Regions from separate parts of the Homo sapiens genome. Here region 2 is linked to region 1. The links are contacts of gene promoters, found by promoter capture Hi-C in blood cells and fetal thymus (Javierre and others, 2016). All regions are on one chromosome and are shown on one strand. The core of a region is centred on a gene start or on the middle of the fragment in contact, and the rest is flanking DNA. Distances in the headings are between cores, read along the strand shown. Region 1 holds the start of RHEB (Ras homolog, mTORC1 binding). Region 2 holds the start of PDIA4 (protein disulfide isomerase family A member 4).

The links. Contacts are between HindIII fragments. The CHiCAGO score rates a contact against its expected background, and 5 or more counts as called.
Region 2: the fragment with the promoter of PDIA4 here is called in contact with a fragment that was not itself captured in region 1 in 1 of 17 cell types (total CD8 T cells); the score reaches 5.3 in total CD8 T cells.

What each region holds. Positions count from the first base shown.
Region 1 is chr7:151,516,116-151,520,089 of GRCh38, reverse strand. RHEB (Ras homolog, mTORC1 binding) reads left to right here and starts at 195. Exons shown (of 8, transcript NM_005614.4): 1 at 195-630. The coding sequence starts at 579. RefSeq lists silencers at 1-184, 355-514, 685-804, 515-944, 875-984 and an enhancer at 2,015-2,064. The HindIII fragment of the contact is 161 bases long and covers 1,739-1,899 here.
Region 2 is chr7:149,026,480-149,030,453 of GRCh38, reverse strand. It overlaps PDIA4 (protein disulfide isomerase family A member 4), which reads left to right and starts at 1,949. Exons shown (of 10, transcript NM_004911.5): 1 at 1,949-2,133. The coding sequence starts at 2,046. RefSeq lists silencers at 1,457-2,036, 2,107-2,176, 2,267-2,316 and enhancers at 1,641-2,234, 2,235-2,829. The HindIII fragment of the contact is 15,108 bases long and covers 1,075-3,974 here.

The DNA.
Region 1 (3,974 bases), core at 570-3,069:
GCCGGCGCCCAACAGCGCGGTAGCAGCGAGGTGTATTTTTAGCTCCCGGGCGGGCAGCCCCGCCCCCCCCTCCCCGCCTCCTTGTTTCCCCCAATGGGAGATGGAGTTTCCGACACGTCATCGCGCGGCTGTGCAGGAGCTGTCCAATCGGCGCTCGGGGAGAATGGCGTAATTAAAAAGCGGCGGAAGAAGGTGGGAGGGTCATGACGCAGCGAGTTTCAGTCGTGACTTTTCTGGGGGCATCGCGGCGTCCCCTTTTTTTGCCTTTAAAGTAAAACGTCGCCCCGACGCACCCCCCGCGTATTTCGGGGGGCGGAGGCGGCGGGCCACGGCGCGAAGAGGGGCGGTGCTGACGCCGGCCGGTCACGTGGGCGTGTTGTGGGGGGGAGGGGCGCCGCCGCGCGGTCGGTTCCGGGCGGTTGGGAGCGCGCGAGCTAGCGAGCGAGAGGCAGCCGCGCCCGCCGCCGCCCCTGCTCTGTATGCCGCTCTCTCCCGGCGCGGCCGCCGCCGATCACAGCAGCAGGAGCCACCGCCGCCGCGGTTGATGTGGTTGGGCCGGGGCTGAGGAGGCCGCCAAGATGCCGCAGTCCAAGTCCCGGAAGATCGCGATCCTGGGCTACCGGTCTGTGGGTGAGTGGCCGGTGGCCGCGCGGCCTCCTCGCGCCGCCGGGGCCTCGCCTGGGAGCCGGGTCGCGGCCGGGCCTGCGAAGTTTGGAGCCGGCGCGGCCATGTGGCGGGGCGGGCGGGGGCCGCGCGTTTCGTAACCACCATTCTGAGCGGAGGTGGTGGCGGTCGGGGCGGCGTCCGCGCCGGTGGAGGAGCCGCGGTAGCTGGGCGCCCTCCGCGGGCCGGGCGGGCAGGTGGCGGCCGGGCGGAGGGCGTGGGAGGCGCGGGGCGGGGGCCGTCGGCCGCCGAGGAGTCCGGGTCTCGTCTGGGGAAGTGAGGCGGCGCCGGGGAGCCGCGCTAGAGGCTGCCGCGAGGGAGTCACACCTGCCTCCCCGCCTTCGCCGCGGGCGCGCGTGACCGGGGCTGGCGGTCTCCCCCACCCCGCCCCCGATGTAAGGAAAAGAAAGTCCGTGGGATTTTAACAAAGGAAGCAGCGCCTCGGCTTCATTCCATCTGTGGTGAAGTTTACCCTTGTAAAGAAAACTAGGGATTTAGAGGACGTTTGGGCACTGAACGCAAGTTTTCTGCATAGGAAACCTAGGCGATCCCCCAAAAGAGGTCCCTCTGGAGGCCCTCGAGATGCTGCTGGCGGCCTGGGTAGGAAGACAGAGAAAAAGGAATGTCTGATCTCTCGGTGCCCTATTTTTGTTCGGGAAGGAATAAGGTCAGGTACTTGCAACCAGGCTGTTGAAGTAATTCCAAAGTCTTTTTGTTTTCTTTTTCTTCCCCCAAAAGGTTGACATACATTTGAAACAGTTCCTAGCAGTCGCCTTATTGCTGAATAAGGTGGCTTAGGGTCGGGTTGGGGGGCGGACGGGGTGTTACAGAACGAGCGGTTTTCTGGCCTGTGTGAAACCAGAGCGATTGAACTTAGACACGCTTCAGGGTGAGGCTGTATTGTCTCCCGACATCCGGAAGCCTGGAGAAATTAGTTCATCTTTTCGGGCTGTTTTGAAGTAACTGTCTATAGAAGGCGTGCACCGGGCCACAGTTGAGGGGATGGGGAGGTGAAAGCGAGGGTTCCGAGGCTCCCGTGATTGCGGAACGGGGTGACTATCTGTCATGGGAAGCTTGTACCTGCCTGCCGCTCACTGGATGCACTCCCCAACTGCGCTTTCCACCGCCTGTGCCAGGGTCTGTGCTCTTTGACCAAGATCAGCCACTGCATGCTTACTCATCCTTTTACCACCTCTCCGTCGAGAGCCGGGGGGAAATTAAGGGCTGAAAGAAGCTTGGCTAGAGATGCGGGGTGCCTAGAGTCGTAGGGGAACTCTTGTGCGATGCGGTGCTGAATCCGAGGGGATGCATAGGTGGCAGCTTTAACAGCTGCAGCCAGGAAGTAACCATGAATCAAATGGAGGGGTTCAAAGTCACTAATTGTTCAAATATCAACATGGAACCTGGGATCCAGCCTTTATTGGCAGCCTGAATCCATGCTCTTGTCTCTGTTCTCTTGATTTCCTCCTCTGCATTTTGAGGAGTTGGGACCGCGAGGTGTTCTGGCTCTTGGGTGAGCCTTCCCTAGTCAGTCAAGTAAGTACTTATTGGCAACTATTTGGAAATAGTAGTCCCTGAATAATCACGTTATAGGCAACAAGTACCTCGGCTACCTGATTTCAACCCAAGAGAATGACCTAAAGATCTTGACTGATTTACCCTTTTCAAATGTCGAAATGGTAGCTCTAGTCTTTGGTGAGCAGGGCTAGTTTTATCACTTTTTTTTTTTTTTTTTTGGCTACAGAAGTTCCTTATGTCCAGTTGAAATCCATTCTGTTTTATCTTCCCTCTATTCAGCGTCCTCCTGAGGACGGAGATGTGACAGGCCACCCCTTAGCCTTGTCCTCACAAACTGTTGCTTGTTAAATACTGTGCTAACTTAGTCTCCGGTGGGATACAGGGTCACTTTTAGTCCCTATTTTCTGTCTTCAGTATTTCATATTTCTGCAACCTACCCCACTTCTCCATATTTATTTTCAAGCGTAGTCATATTAAACGATTTTGGAGAGGTTAAGTTGCTCCCAATCTTGTATTTGATTTTTTTTTTTTTTTTTTTCCGAGACGGAGTTTCGCTCTTGTGACCCAGGCTGGAGTGCAATGGCGCGATCTCGGCTCACTGCATCCTCCACGCCCCGGACTCAAGCGATTCTCCTGCCTCAGCCTCCAGAGTAGCTGGCACTACAGGCGTGCACCACTATGCCCGGCTAATTTTGTATTTTTAGTAGAGACGGGTTTCACCACTTGGCCAAACGTCAGGCTTGTCTCAAACGCCTGACCTCAGGTGGTCCTCCCACCTTGGCCTCCCAAAGTGCTGGGATTATAGGCGTGAGCCACCATGCCCAGCCGCATTTGATTTTAAAGTGTATTATGAGCCAGGATATTTTGTAGTATGTGGGGTCTTTTTTAGGGGAAGGAGATTAGGTTTTGCCAGCAGGTTTCTTCTAGTAAGCCACCCTTTTGAGAATTACTCAGCATGCTCACTTCTGGGAGCTTACTGGCATGTTTGCTTGCAAATGGTGGTGCTGTACCAGAGAAATTTGAGTACCTGTGTTTCTAGATTGTGGTATTTTGTGATGCTGAGCTGTTTGTCCTATATTCTGGGGGTAGAGCCACATAAAAAGCCTCCACACCTTTCTTAGAATGTTCTCTTGATTAAATACATTAAGCCAGTTTGACTAGTAGGATACTTGTCATTGTGATTTGTCATGCCACAAACTTTATTTTTAAAGTTGTCTTCAGATAAAACAAAAAAGTGCTATGTTTGTTTAACTAGTTGGCTTTCTTTTTTTTTTTTTTTTTTTTTTGTGACAGAGTCTCACTCTATCACCCAGGCTGGAGTGCAGTGGCGGGATCTGGGCTCACTGCAACCTCTGCTGCCCAGGTTCAACCGATTCTCCTGCCTCAGCCTCCCAAGTAGCTGGGATAACAGGCGCCTGCCACCCCGCCCAGCTAATTTTTGTATTTTTAGTAGAGACTGGGTTTCACCATCTTGGCCAGGATGGTCTTGAACTCCTGACCTCGTGATCCACCTGCCTCGGCCTCCCTAAGTGCTGGGATTACAGGCATGAGTCACTGCACCCAGCCCACTACTTGGCTTTCCGTTTTCTTTTTTTCTTTTTTTTTGAGTGTTGTCAGAACTACCAATAGGTAAAATATAATTCTCAGGTAGTCTATACAATTCTCCCTGCCAGTCCCCTGTACTTTTCCTGGTATTTACAATGTTAAAGCTTTTAAGGACACGTCACCTATAACTCTGGGAGTCTGGCTTTCAGGGAGTGCTTTGTATTAACTGTTGCCGTGATGGCCAAAAG
Region 2 (3,974 bases), core at 700-3,199, 2.5 Mb after region 1:
ATTCTGACCCTCAACACAGTGCTGTTTGTACCCATAACAAAATTGAGTGAAAAATTTAGGGATAAAGAGAAAGGAGCTTTCCAACTTGATAAAGTTCTGTTTTGTTGAATGAACTTCTATAGCTATACCCTAAATGCTTTCAAAAAGAACATTGTTACTTTAATGTCACAAGATATATGTGTGTTTATACACATATACAGACAGCACTTCAAGAGCCTTCTTCCTATCTTTGTATCAACAAAAGGCCAGTGAAATTGTGTTTCTCCCACCACTGAGCAAATGGGGTCCTCATTCCTCTCAGTTTAACAGTGTCATAGGAAACAAGAAGAAAGATGAGAACTCTGACTTGTCTTTTTGAAGAACAGGTCTATCTTTAACATGATATTAAGGCTGGGCACGGTGGCTCACACCTGTAATCCCAGCACTTTGGGAGGCCGAGGTGGGTGGATCACTTGAGGTCGGTCAGGAGTTTGAGACCAGCCAGGCCAACGTGGTGAAACCCTGTCTCTACTAAAAATATAAAAATTAGCAGGGAGTGGTGGCGGGCGCCTGTGGTCCCACCTACCCGGGAGGCTGAGACAGTAGAATCACTTGAACCCAGGAGGCGGAGGTTGCAGTGAGAGGAGATGGCGCCACTGCATTCCAGCTTGGGTGACAGAGCAAGACTCTTGTCTCAAAAAATAAAATAACATGATACCGAACTGTCTGGTGGCCCACATTCATAGCACTCTAATAAATCAGTGTGTACAGTTGCATAATGTTCTGCCCTACAAAATTGACCAGGAACCATCAGATTAATAGGCATTCAACAAAAAAATTAAGTATTTTTAATTGCTAAGGTCTGTGAGTTATCCCTTTTTTCTTCCTCACGTAATAATCTGCACACACGAGAAAATATTCCTGAACTTGAGTTTCTATTTTTTTTCTTTTCCCTATTTGCCTTCTCAAACTCCCAGGTGTTAAAAAAAAGTCTCAAACTTAATGCACATTACAGGCTTCTTTTCTGACATACAAAAATCGTCATCTTAACCTAGTTTTCTTCTCCAAAGTGGTCAAGAGGGAAAACCTCAAGCTTTTATTCAGATCTATGTAAACCACTAGATTGCCTATCTGGTATTTCCTTTTGCAGAAAATCACTAGAAAACTAAATAAGACGAGGCAAAGTTTAGACAAGAATCTGATGGCTTGTTTCTCCGAGATGCAACCTTGGAGAGAGGCTTCCCCAGATTCTAGTCTGGATTCACTTTACTGCATGCTCTTCCCCGCTCTCTAGCTCAATACTCCGGAGAGAAATGAAACTTTTATTTGCTCGAGCAGAAAAAGAAATTAAGAAGGCCACGAACATGCAGCGGACTTGGAGCCCCTTTCTAGCAACAAACAGGCTCGTGCTCCTCCGCCCGCGTTGGTCTCCAGCTTCCCAGAGCCCCGGCGGGTTGCGAGGACCGCCCTGCTCGCCACTGCTCCCCACCGCTCCGGTACCGACACGTGTTCTTACTGCCAAGTTCGGCCGCAGGATGCTGAGCCGAGCCCCGCCCCGCTCCACATTTCCCAGGCTCCGCCTCTCCTGCCCCGCCCCCGGCACCGATTGCCAATAGCGCCCCGAGGCGTAGCCAGGTCCCGCACTCCCCGTGCCCGGCCCGCCGCCTTTGTTCTCCCCCGCTCTCCCTCTTGGCCTGTGCGCTCCCGGCAAACCGAGTGGCAGCCGCTGATTGGTGGTTGTGGCGCAGCCAATCAGAAGGGGGCACCTCACGTTAGGGCTCGGAGTTTTAAACGCGCAGCCGAGGGCCGCGCGCAGGAGTAGGGAGGGCCTAGGGCGGCGGAGCCGACTCGTCGCGGCCGAGGCGCGCGCGGTCCGTGCCGGCGTCAGTCTGGGATTGGCCGGCCCGCGACTTCCTCCGCCCCCTGCCAATCGCCGGGGACGACTTCCGTGGGTTTTTCCGGCTCCCCCGCGTCGCTAAGGAGCGACGGGCTGTCGGCCAGACCCCGAGTTCTCGGTGCGCTCAGCGGCCGCCGACGCTAGGAGGCCGCGCTCCGCCCCCGCTACCATGAGGCCCCGGAAAGCCTTCCTGCTCCTGCTGCTCTTGGGGCTGGTGCAGCTGCTGGCCGTGGCGGGTGCCGAGGGCCCGGACGAGGGTGAGCGGCAAGCGCGCCGCGGGTCGGGCTGTGCTTGCGGGGGCTGCAGAGCTGTGCGGGGGCCTGGGCCCTGCGACCCCGGCGGGCGGGCTTCCGCGCGGTCAGCTCCAGAACTAGTGATGGGCGCCGAGCCCGGGGTAAACTTGGCGGAGTTGAAGGGGCGGGGGCGGTGGCTGTGGCAGTGGCAGGATCGATTTGGGGTTCCCGGGAGAGGAAGGTGGCCGGGGTCTCTTGGGCTCCGACGCCCTGGAAGACCCCTGTCACCCGAGGCTGGGAGAGGGCTGCAGAGCGCCTTTTTTGCAGCTGGGTCCTTCGCCTTAATTTACAGATTTTCGTCAGGTCCAGGCTAACTCCAGGCGAACGCGCCCAGGCAGTGGGAAGGGAGAGGGAGAGCCACTGGAGAGAAGGGGCGAGGGCGTGAAGAAACAAGTGCGAGTTCTTTGGAACAGCAAGCATTCCTTTTCAAAATGTGGTCTGTAGATTTGGAAATGATTAATCCATAGATTCTGGAGAAAGGGATGGCTTGGTTTGCACCTTTGAGAAACTAGAGATACCATTCCTTCTGCATTTAGCATTTACTGTGTGCCAGTCCCTGTACTGGGTTCTGGGAGGAAAAGATTGTGAGTGTGGTCCCTGCCCATGAAGCGCGTACTCCAGTAGGAATAGTAACAACTACTTCATGGTCCCTGCATTTTTCTTCGAAGTGAGCTAGCTGCAGACATAAGAACTCTGAAGATTAGGAAGTGCTAATTAAGGAAAAGTTGTTATTCCTAGAGAATAAGGCATCCAGGTACTGGTCTTTACCTTCTTCCTCTCTGCCCTTACTTTTAATCACTAGCTTTTTAACCTTCTGAGTTTGTTCTAATATAAATATACACTCTTTGATAATGTTAGTGTGTAGGGAAATCGTGAACTTTATACTCTTTCAAACAGATTGAGTAACTTCTGCGTGGGTCACTGATTCAAAAAGAGTCTTTGCCCAAATAGAAAAGGAAGTAAAAACCCACACTCGGCGAGAAAAACACCTGCCGAAAGGAATCCGATAGCGGGACTGCTTACAAATTGTGTCTTGAGACCTTTACCCAAATCATGTTTGTTTAAATAGTGTTTATTTAAATACAGATACCCAAAATACACTGAAGCAGAATGCAGGGGTGGGCCCCGGAATCTGCGTTTTAAGTCAGTTTTCCCTTGAGACATAGAATTAACTTCGGGAGGCACAGTGAAAGTTGAGGACCAGTGTGGGTGGAAGATGCTTTTTGGAACATAGCGGAAAAGCATATAGCACTGTCTTGGTTTTGATCCAGTGATTCTGTTTTTGGGGGGATTCTTGAGAGGCCTGGGAGAGTGGCTTTAGGAGCTGTTAGGACCAGCAAGTTTATCCTTCCGGTCAGAGGTCTTTAACACAGAAGAGTCCCTGGGAAGCAGTTGCTCCTAGGGTGAGCCTAGGAATCCCAGGGGTCATCATGGCCAAGGGCAGGCCTCCTGGGACTTCTAGCTCCGTTTTTTTTTTTTTTTTTCCTAGATAAGGTTACGCATTGTTGCCCAGGCTTGAGTGCACTGTCCTGATCATGGCTTACTTAAGCCTCAAACTCCTGGGCTCATGGGATCCTCCTGCCTCAGCCTCCCGAGGAGCTGGGACTGTAGGTGCTTGCCAACACGCCTGGCTGTTTTTTTTTTCTGGCTCTGTCGCCCAGGCTGGAGTGCAGTGACGCGATCTCAGCTCACCACAACCTCTGCTTCCCGAGTTCAAGTGATTCTCCTTTCTCCACCTCCCTAGTAGCTGGGACCACAGGCACGTGCCACCACACCCAGCTAATTTTTTGTATTTTTCAGTAGAG